2 separate regions of the Homo sapiens genome follow, and region 2 is linked to region 1. Evidence: promoter capture Hi-C in 16 types of primary human blood cells and fetal thymus (Javierre and others, 2016). All regions are on one chromosome and are shown on one strand. The core of a region is centred on a gene start or on the middle of the fragment in contact, and the rest is flanking DNA. Distances in the headings are between cores, read along the strand shown.

Region 1 (7,898 bases), core at 5,222-7,721:
GGGCAAGTCCAGGGATTCTCATGCATAGAACTTGCGAGGGGGTGGGGAGAACCCGGTGCACTGTCTCATTCCTGTAATCCCAGTACCTTGGGAGGCTGAGGCAGGAAGATCACTTGAGGCCAACCTGGGCAACGTAGTAAGACCCTATCTCTAACAAATAAATAAATAAATATATATGTACACACACATACATATACACACACATACATACGTATGTATACACACACACACACACACACACACCCATTAGCCTGGCATGGTGATACATGCCTATAGTCCTAACTACTCAGGAGGCTGAGGTGGGAGGATCATTTGGGCCAGGAGTTTGATGCTAAAGTGAGCTATGATCATGCCACTCCAGCCTGGGTGACAAAATGAGACCCTGTCTCTTTAAAAAAAAAAAAAAAAAAAAAAAATTAGGCCAGGCTTATTGGCTCATGCCTATATTCCCAGCACTTTGGGAGGCTGAGGTGGGCAGATCACTTGAGGTCAGGAGTTCAAGACCAGCGTGGTCAAAATGGTTAAACCCTGTCTCTACTAAAAATACAAAAATTAGCTGGGTGTGGTGGCACATGCCTGTAGTCCCAGCTACTTGGGAGGCTGAGGCACGAGAATCACTGGAACCTGGGAGGAGGAGGAGGCGGTGGTGAGCCAAGATTGCGCCACTGCACATCAACCTGGGCAACAGAGCGAGACTCCATTTAAAATATAATAATAATAATTAGAAAAAGAAAAAGGCCAGGTGTGGTGGCTCATGCCTGTAATCCCAGCACTTTGGGAGGCTGAGGCGGGCGAATCACTTGAGGCCAGGAGTTCGAGACCAGCCCGGTCAACGTGGCGAAACCCCATCTCTACTAAAAATACCAAAATATTAGCCAGGCGTCATGGCACATCCCTGTAATCTCAGCTACTCAGGAGGCTGAGACAGGAGAATTGGTTGAACCTGAGAGGCAGAGGCTGCAGTGAGCCAAGATTGCATCATTGCACACCAGCCTGAGCGACAGAGTGAGACTCCACCTCAAAAAAATAATAAATAAGAAGGCCAGGCACGGTGGCTCACTCCTGTAATCCCAGCACTTTGGGAGGCTGAGGCGGGCGGATCACAAGGTTAAGAGATCGAGACCATCCTGGCCAACATGGTGAAACCCTGTCTCTACTAAAAATACAAAAATTAGCTGGGCGTGGTGGCACATGCCTATAGTCCCAGCTATTCGGGAGGCTGAGGCAGGAGAATCGCTTAAACCCAGGAGGCGGAGGCTGTGGTGAGCCAAGATTGCGCCATTGCACTCCAGCCTGAGCGACAGAGCGAGACTCCATCTCAAAAAAAAAAAAAAAAAAAAAAAGAAAAGAAAAGAAATGAACTCTGTAGCCATGAGCCCTTGCCGAAGGTAGTCTTACCTACGCTGGTCAGCTTGGGCTTTGGGGTCAAGGAGTCCGGCATCTCCCTCATAATCCCTGCTGTTCCCCAGGTCGGCCCTCCTCCACGCTGACTTCCGGGTCTCACTCTCCCACGCCTGTAAGAACGCTGTGAAGACGGATGCCCCTGCCTCTGCCCTCTGGGACATCATGCGTTGCTGGGTGAGGGCAGGGCTGACCTCATGCAGGTGGGAGGGCAGGTGGTGGTCACCTGGAGGTCCCTTGGGCCTAGTATTCCCTAACCTCTGACCTCTGCCCCCAGGAGAAGGAATGTCCGGTGAAACGGGAGCGACTATCAGAGACTAGCCCAGCGTTCCGCATTCTCAGTGTGGAGCCCAGGTAGGGGCAAGCACATGCAGGAGCGGCCAGGGCTGCCCACAGACATGGAAGCACATGTGTGTGCAGACAACACAGATGCTGCCCCACACAGACTCGTGCCCATTCTTCAAGTGAGATTCAAAATCTGCTGACTGGGGCTGGGTAGGTGGCTCACGCCTGTAATCCCAGCACTTTGGGAGGCTGAGGCAGGTGGATCACCTGAGGTCAGGAGTTCAAGACCAGCCTGGCCAACATGGTGGAACCCCATCTCTACTAAAAATACAAAAATTAGCTGGGCATGGTGTGGTGGTGGGTGCCTGTAATCCCAGCTACTCAGGAGGCTGAGACAGGAGAATCGCTTGAACCTGGGAGGCAGAGGTTGCGGTGAGTCTAGATCGCGCCATTGCACTCCAGCCTGGGCGACAGAGCGAGACTCCATCTCAAAAAGAATAAAAAAATAGCTGGGTGCGGTGGCTCATGCCTGTAGTCCCAGCACTTTGGGAGGCCGAGGCAGGCGGATCACGAGATCAGGAGATTGAGACCATCCTGGCTAACACAGTGAAACCCTGTCTCTACTAAAAATACAAAAAAAAAAAAAAAAAAATTAGCCGGGCGTGGTGGCAGGTGCCTGTAGTCCCAGCTACTCGGGAGGCTGAGACAGGAGAATGGCGTGAACCCCGGGGGGCAGAGCTTGCAGTGAGCCGAGATAGCGCCACTGCACTCCAGCCTGGGTGACAGAGTAAGACTCCGTCTCAAATAAATAAATAAATAAATAAATAAAAATAAAAATAACTAAATCTGCTGACTGGGCTGGGCGTAGTGGCTCACACCTGTAATCCCAGCACTTTGGGAGGCCAAGACAGGCAGATCACCTGAGGTCAGGAGTTCAAGACCAGCCTGGCCAACATGACGAAACCCTGTCTCTACTAAAAATACAAAAAAAAAAAAAAAATTAGCCAGGTGTGGTGGCACATGCCTGTAGTCCCAGCTACTCGGGAGGCTGAGGCAGGTGAATCGCTTGAACCTGAGGCAGAGTTTGTAGTGAGCCGAGATCGCACCACTGCACTCCAGCCTGGGCGACAGAGTGAGACTCCATCCCAAAAGAAAAGAAAATTAGCATTACCAGCATACCAGGGGTAACTTTTTGTCCATTTTGTTCACTGTCTATTCCCAGCACTGAGAACAATGCAGGCACACAGTCGTTAAATAAAAATGTTTATTAAGGCCAGGCATGGTGGCTCATTCCTATAATCCCAGTGCTTTGGGGGCCAAGGCGGGAAGATCGCTTGAGCCCAGGAATGAAACCAGCCTGGGCAACACAGTAATTAAGACTCCATCTCTACCAGAAAACTAAAAAAATTAGCTGGGCATGGTGGTACCTGCCTGTCGTCCCAGCTACTCAGGAGCTTGAGGCGGAGGCAGGAGGGTTGCTCAAGCCCAGGAGTTCCAGACTGCAGCTTTGATGGCGATCGCACCACTGCACTCCAGCCTGGGCAGCAGAGTGAGACCCTGTATCTTTATTTTATTTTTTTTTAGACAGAGGCTCACTCTCTTGCCCAGGCTGGAGTGCAGTGGTGCGATTTCAGCTCACTGCAACCTCCGCCTCCCAGGTTCAAGCGATTCTCCTGCCTCAGCGTCCCGAGTAGCTGGTATCACAGGCACCCGGCACCACGCCTGGCTAATTTTTGTATTTTTAGTGGAGATGGGGTTTCACCATGTTGGCCAGGCTGGTCTCGAACTCCTGACCTCAGGTGATCCACCCGCCTCAGCCTCCCAAAATGCTGGGATTTACAGGCATGAGCCACCGTGCCTGGCCGAGACCCCATCTCTTTAAAAAAACCAAAAATGTTTATTAGATGAATGAGAGAATCCTGACATGAGCAGACACCTCGTGCTGTGTTGTGGAGGCGGACAGGCCCTGTGGGGAGTGGGGACACACTCGTGTGGCAGCTTCCCCCAGCCCCAACGCCCCACCCCTGCTTCCCTAGGCTGCAGGCCAACTTCACCATCCGGGAAGATGCCAACCCCAGCTCCCGACAGCGAGGACTCAAGCGCTTCCAGGCTAACCCGGAGGCCAACTGGGGTCCCCGGCCTCGTGCCCGGCCAGGGTGAGTGGTGGTAAGGTGGGGGTGGGGCTCAGCCAGGGAAAGAAGGGGTAAAGGGCAGATGGGGTCCCACCTACTCCTCCCCTCGCACAGGGGCAAGGCGGCCGACGAAGCTATGGAGGAGAGACGCAGGCTGCTTCAGAACAAGCGGAAGGAGCCGCCGGAAGATGTGGCCCAGCGGGCTGCCCGGCTCAAGACATTTCCTTGCAAGAGGTTTAAGGAGGTGAGGTCCCTCCTCCCTTTCCTCCACTGCAGGACACATGAGTCTCCCCTTTGGGCAACAGGGAGAGAATTGGGGGAGCTGGGGCCAGGCAAGTGTTTGGGAGTGGGCTTCCCATCCCAGGAAAGGATCCCATCAGGGGCTGCTGAGCTCCGGGCAGGGGTTCACACCCACCATCTTCCCACCAGGGCACCTGTCAACGCGGGGACCAGTGCTGCTACTCCCACAGCCCCCCGACACCCAGGGTTTCTGCTGATGCTGCCCCTGACTGTCCAGAGACCTCCAACCAGACCCCCCCTGGACCTGGGGCTGCCGCTGGGCCAGGCATAGACTGAACCAATAAAGAGATGTCACGTCACCTTCTCCCGATTGCCTGTGGTTTGTGTATTGGTCCATACAGCTGCATGACTGGGATCTGTTCCTCTGGGGATCGTTCGCCCCTGCCTGGCTGGAGTGTTGAGTCTGTATGGGAGGTAGGAGCTGACCATCTGCACAGTGGTCGGCCCCTCTGCAGCGAGGGTCACTGAGCCACCCCAGAGCCGGAGCCAGCGATTCCCGAAGCGGCCACGGGGCGGCAGCTGTGCGCTCGCTCCCGCGGGGGTTCTGCCCCTCTTCCCCCTCCCACCTTCAGCGCTCTCCAGGCCACGGGCTTGCGCATAGTGGGGCGCTCCTGCCCGGTAGCCCCCACGTGTCTTCGCGCCGCTGCCTCCTCGCCGCCTGGTTTCTTTGGCCCAGCTCTCCAGGGGCCACAGTGGCGGAAGCTGGACCGGAACCAGGCGCCCTGTGCATCCGCTCCAGACCAGGTGCTTCCTGCCCTGAGGCCCGGGGCGAGGGGGGCGTGCACACAAAGAGGGACCTCGCAGGCTGCTGCCCAGACACCCAGTGAGGGGGAGCTGTACCCCTCCCTGCCCTCCAGAGTGGGGTTTAGTAACGTTAACGAAGAGTCCTGGGGCAGGATCCCCTCTCTGGCTCCTGCTCCCTTCATCCCCATCTGTAATGAGGCTAATCTTAGGACCCTCCTTGTAGCGATATCAGAGTTAGCGCTTAATTTTTTTTTTTTTTTTTTTTTTTTTGAGGCAAGGTCTAGGTGTGTGGCCCAGGCTGGAGTGCAGTGGCGCAATATTGGCTCACTGCAGCCTCCACCTCCCAGGCTCACGCCATCCTCCCACCTCAGCCTCCAGAGTAGCAGGGACTACAGGCACGCACCACCACAACCAGCTAATTTTTGTATTTTTTGTAGAGATGGGGTTTTGCCATGTTTCCCAGGCTGGTCTCAAACTCATGAGCCCAAGCAATCCGCCAGCCTCAGCCTCCCAAAGTGCTGGGATGACAGGCATGAGCCACCAAGCCCGGCCTTTACTGCATAAAACTTTAGTTCCTGCTTCTTTGGAGGAAAGCAATGGAGGTGTTGATCGTGGGGTCCTGGGCTCCACCCCATTCCTGGGCGGGGGGGGGGGGGGGTTGGTAGTCCTGCTGCTGGGTGCCTGCCTGCCTGGGGGCTCTTGCAGTTGCCCAGATACACAGACGGGCCAAAGCATGAGTATCACAAGTGGGTGGCAGTCTGGTAGCTGCTGCTGCCTGGCTGTGCCCAGAGCCTCTCCCTGTGGGAGGCTCCAGTAGGGTCTTGAGGTTTACCACCAAGCCAGGATAACTGCCCCCCATGAAGGGGCCGGGTGCTGTGGGGTGAGGGCCATGGACCACCAAGTTGGAGTTATGTGATCCTGTAGCCAAGAGGCCTATAGTTGTGGGGACCTGTTGGGCATCTACTGGAAGGTCACACCAGCCCCAGCACCCTAGGAAATCCAACTTCCCCACCCCACCCCTGACAGCCATGGCTCTTCCTCTCACCCTCCTGGGCTTGGAAATGTGTGGATACTGTGCTGAGGGCTTGGGACACCTGCCCAGGCTGGACACCCAAGGCCAGACTGTTAGAACTGTTCCCCTTTGGGTGCCCCACTCCCGGGTAGGGGTGGTGGAGAGGAGGGAAGGGCCTCTGTAAAAAGAGGAACCAGGCTGGGTGAGGAGAGGAGGTGGGGGCCCAGGGTCACGCGGCCCCAACGGGCCGGAAAGGGCTCTCCCTCACCCCCATCAGCACAGACATTCGGGCAGGGAGTGTGCAAAGCCAAAGGGCAGACTCGGACATAAGAGGAGGCAGCTTCCCTGCCTCAGTTTACCCCCTGCGTGCATCCAGGCACCTCCCTCCCCGGCTGCCCTGGGGCCCGGGTCCCCAGAGGCCCGGGGTCCCTACAGTGGCTGGGGGAGCGGAAGGCGAAGCCCTGAGGGGTGGCGGACCGAGTCCTGCCAGCGCCGGCTGGGGGCGGGGCCGGGAGGCCCGCGCTGCTAGGTCCCCGCCCGCTGGTTTCCTCCGGGGTCAGCCAGGCTCCTTATCAGGCGCGGCCAGGCAGCCTGGCCCTTATCTGCACTGGGCCAGCATCCTCCGGCCGCTGCGCCGCCAGGGGTGAGAGGGAGGAAACCGGGCCGCCGGGGGCGGGGAGAAGGCGGGCCGGCCCGGGAGCCGCTCACTTTCCCTGGGGGGGACCTACGCGGAGACCTCGGCTATCCTGGCCTTCCGAGGCCCACGAGGAGGCGCGGCCCAACGCCGGGGCCTGGAGCATTGAGGCCGGACCCTCGCGAGACAGCAGAGCCTGGCCTGACGCTGGAAACCACACCCTGGCCCAGACTGCCAGCCCTGACGGGACAGAGCCAGGGCACTCACCAGGCTGCAAGAACAGTGCTGGGGTAAGAGGGGAGCGGGCCTAAAGGTGGAGGATCCCGGGCCTGGGACCCAGCCTGCATTCCTTTGTTCATTCCTTCATTCATTCATTCACCAGCAGGGACCCACTAGTGAGGGGCCAGGCCTGCTTCCCCAGGGCCTAGCTGAGGAAGACAGGGCAGAGGGGCCAACAGTCTCACACCTTGCTGGGACATCCTGGACTCTGGAACCAAGAGCAAACAGGGATGTCAAAACAGTATGCAAAACTGTGGATGATCGCGGGGCATTGTGGTGCATGCCTGTAATCCCAGCACTTTGGGAGGCTGAGGCAGGAGGATCACTTGAGCCCAGGAGTTCCAGACCACCCTGGACAACAGAGTGAGAACCTGCCTCTACAAAAAAAATTTTTTTTTTTAAATTAGCCGGGCATGGTGGCACATGCCTGTACTCTCAGCTACTCAGGAGGCTGAGACAGGAGGATGGCTCGAGCCCAGGAATTTGAGGCTGCAGTGCACTATGATTGCACCACTGCACTCCAGCCTGGACAACAGAGGGAGACCCTGTCTCTAAAAAAATAAACAAATTTTAAAAAGCGTGGATGCTGATGAGGATGGGGGCTTCCAAGCCAGAGGGAGGGTTGGGGCATGACTGGACTGGACTGGGCAGTGGGGTCAGTGTTTGGGGGTCTAGGGTCAGCATTTGAGGTCATAGTGTCAGTAGTGGGGTCACAGGGTTGCTATGGGGGATGTTTGCAGTGGGAGTGGGGGTCACTCAAGCAATTATGGAGCACTTTCAGGGACAGCAATGGGAAGAACCGCAGGGTCATTCTTGAGGTGCAGAGGGTCAGCCTGGGTGGGGGCTGGGGGCCTTCCGTGAAGGGTCAGAGTCCATCTTGGAGGGATTCCAAGCTCACATGGCATCAATGAGTTAATGAGGAGTCTCTGGGTTGGATCTTTAGATCTGAGGATAACAGGGTTAATCTTGGGGTTTCTGGGGATCCCAGGATCAGTTAGGGGCTCCCTGTCTTGTTCCCTCTCCAGGCTGCAGAGGTGAGGGAATTCTGGAAGAAGGAATATTTGCTCAGAGGCTGGGCAACAGCGCCCCTCCTGGGTCACAAAGAGCTCAG
Region 2 (2,909 bases), core at 410-2,909, 160 kb before region 1:
GCAGTTTTTCTTTAGATGAAGTGTCTTGGGGTTAAGATCCTTTTTCCTAATTCGCATGAAGGCATCATATGGATTTAAAAGGGTATAACCGTGATCTGGGAAGCAGGAACTAGATTTCTTGTTCCATAAAATTTTGACTTTTCATCTACCTATTCTAGGCTCTAGTATCTCCCATTCCAAAATAGCATGAACCAGCATTTCCCAAAAGCCTGTCATTCAAAAACATATATATATATTAAGGGAAATAAAATCCAGTCATTAGAGCACCCACTTTCACTCTATGCTTCACCTGGGGGTCCCCAGTATTATCTCTTATGTAATATGTTTCTTTAAATCAAGTCACACCCGTAATCCCTGCATTTTGAAAGACCAAGGCAGGAGTGTTGCTTGAGCCCAGGAGAATGAGACCAGCCTGGGCAACATAGTTAGACTCTGTCTCTACTAAAAATTAAAGACAGAAAACAGATACTGTTATGGAAATCTAACCAAATATGGCTGCCTGCCTAAGGCTTTGTGCATTGACAACTGCTCTTTCTTGGTTAAAGAGGGAAAATGTCAATGGTAGGTGTTAACATGGTAGCAACTAAGTAAAAATTTCTCCTTCACTCAAAAGGATTGAGAGAGTTGGAAAGGAAGTAACTTTGTTACCTTGTTTTTCTGTGTTGGGCTCCTGTATCACTTAAAAGCATCTCTGGTATCCCATCTGGGAGTTTTAGATCCATAGAATGCCAGGATTGAGTCCAACTCCTCCAACGCTTATTTCTGAAAGCTGGGGGGACCTTACCCTAGTGACTTGACTTATGACCTTGCCTGTAAAATGGGAATGATCATGGCAGTATTTTGGTATGATGGGCCACTGGAGGCAGAAGGTTGGGCAGGTCCCCAGCCCCTCATGCTCTCTGTCAACTCCACCCCACAGGCTGTGTTTGACTGTGTGGTGAACTCACTTAAAAACGTCTTCAACATCCTCATCGTCTACATGCTATTCATGTTCATCTTCGCCGTGGTGGCTGTGCAGCTCTTCAAGGGGAAATTCTTCCACTGCACTGACGAGTCCAAAGAGTTTGAGAAAGATTGTCGGTGGGTCTCCACTTTCCAGCACATTCCCATTGGAACCAGCAGGTGGGCAGGGGGGAAGTGGCTAGAGGCATTGGCCACTTGGGCTCAGAGACTGGAGAAGTGATGAGCCTTGGAAGTGACTCAGTTGCAACCAGCTTGGATCTTGGGTAGAAAGAAAACCGGTTTTAGAATTTGAGTCACCACCCAGAGCCACAGAATGAGTCATAAGCAAATTGATTGACCTTTCAGCCACCGCCTTTGTCATGTGAGGGATATTAATACACATCCACAGTTCCTTACTTGAAATCGTTACAGGCAGATGTGTTTCAAAGTTGAGAATATTTTGAGATTCCCATGTGGGACATGACACCCTCAGCTGGGTCTAAGGCAGCCCTATAATCAAACACAATATTTCTGCCATAAAATGTGTAACTATTTACATCAAATGGGGTAAATAACAAGTATAAAGAGCTTCATGTCCAATCAGATCAGGTTTCATTACCAAATAAGTTAGGTAAGAGGCCAGGTGCAGTGGCTCACACCTGTAATTCCAACACTTTGGGAGGCTGAGGTGGGAGGATCACTTGAGGCCAGGAGTTGGAGACCAGGTTGGGCAACATAATGAGAGCCCATCCTACAAAATAAATTTTAAAAGTTAGCGGGGCATGGTAGCACACACCTGTAGTCCCAGCTACCCGGGAGGCTGAGGCGGGAGGATTGTTTAAACACAGGAGTTCAAGGCTGCAATGCACTATGATGGTACCACTGCACTCCAGCCTGCGTGACAGAGTGAGACCCTGCCTCTCAAAAATATATACATATAGGCCGGGCGCAGTGGCTCATGCTTATAATCTCAGCACTTTAGGAGGCCGAGGCGGGCGGATCATGAGGTCAGGAGATCGAGACCATCCTGGCTAACACGGTGAAACCCTGTCTCTACTAAAAATACAAAAACCTAGCTGGGCATGGTGGCAGACGCCTGTAGTCCCAGCTACTTGGGAGGCTGAGACAGGAGAATGGCGTGAACCCGGGAGGCGGAGCTTGCAGTGAGCCCAGATTGGGCCACTGTACTCCAGTCTGGGCAACAGAGCCAGACTCCATCTCAAACAAACAAACAAACAAACAACAACAACAAAAATATATATATATATATATGTATATATATATATGTACACGCACACACACATATGTATTATATGTGTGTGTGTATATATATGTATGTGTATATATAGTGATATTGTTACCAGTGTAAAGTGGCATTTTGCAACACATGGTAGCCTGTTGTTATCTTGATGGCTATTTATTGAAATTAGGAGGATGCCAGATGTCTGGATAGGAGTCTGGAACTAACCCTTGTTTCCTGCCTTGAAAAGGAGTAGCAACCTCCCTTAGCCTGATGAACCTCTAAATGTCCCCTATGTCTCTCTGCCTCCTCCTAAACTCCCTCCACCCCACCCCCAGCAAGCCTGAGGCTCTCACCCTGAGGACTAGAAGTTATCACGTTGGAAGAGGGTGCTGGACCCTGGGTCAGCTCTCCCACCAGGAGTAAGGTTGTGCCATCACCCATGGATTTATCTCAAAGTAGATGCACACGTCATCCCCTATGAAGCACAGGAACACATGGTGGCAGGATGGGGAGTCACTGCTTCCCAAGCAGTCTAGGCTGGTGGACCACTCTTCCTTTCCCTCCCCCTGTCTCTGATAACCAAAGACAAGTGCAAGACAGCCCCTCTTTCCCATTTACTAACAGTCCCCACTCTCTGTGGCAGAGGCAAATACCTCCTCTACGAGAAGAATGAGGTGAAGGCGCGAGACCGGGAGTGGAAGAAGTATGAATTCCATTACGACAA

What was found. The method cuts DNA at HindIII sites, captures the fragments that hold promoters and counts their contacts. A CHiCAGO score of 5 or more calls a contact.
Region 2: a contact is called between a fragment that was not itself captured here and the fragment with the promoter of LYL1 in region 1, in 2 of 17 cell types (naive CD4 T cells and endothelial precursors). The highest score is 5.7, in naive CD4 T cells.

The regions. Positions count from the first base shown.
Region 1 is chr19:13,101,431-13,109,328 of GRCh38, reverse strand. It overlaps LYL1 (LYL1 basic helix-loop-helix family member), which reads left to right and starts at 6,471. Exons shown (of 4, transcript NM_005583.5): 1 at 6,471-6,798. TRMT1 (tRNA methyltransferase 1) reads left to right here. Exons shown (of 17, transcript NM_001136035.4): 13 at 1,470-1,578; 14 at 1,679-1,755; 15 at 3,723-3,842; 16 at 3,933-4,062; 17 at 4,248-4,422. The coding sequence ends at 4,394. It overlaps LOC105372282 (a long non-coding RNA gene), which reads right to left and starts at 4,913. Exons shown (of 2, transcript XR_001753871.2): 1 at 4,685-4,913; 2 at 4,423-4,521. RefSeq lists silencers at 3,289-3,368, 6,089-6,698, enhancers at 4,729-4,788, 4,700-4,994, 4,929-5,008 and cis regulatory regions at 4,418-4,998, 5,798-6,718. The HindIII fragment of the contact is 45,459 bases long and covers 1-7,898 here.
Region 2 is chr19:13,259,621-13,262,529 of GRCh38, reverse strand. It overlaps CACNA1A (calcium voltage-gated channel subunit alpha1 A), which reads left to right. Exons shown (of 47, transcript NM_001127222.2): 26 at 920-1,080; 27 at 2,829-2,909. Among named protein-coding and RNA genes, the nearest start is that of IER2, 110 kb to the right of the region's middle. RefSeq lists enhancers at 1,155-1,384, 593-1,792. The HindIII fragment of the contact is 4,266 bases long and covers 1-2,909 here.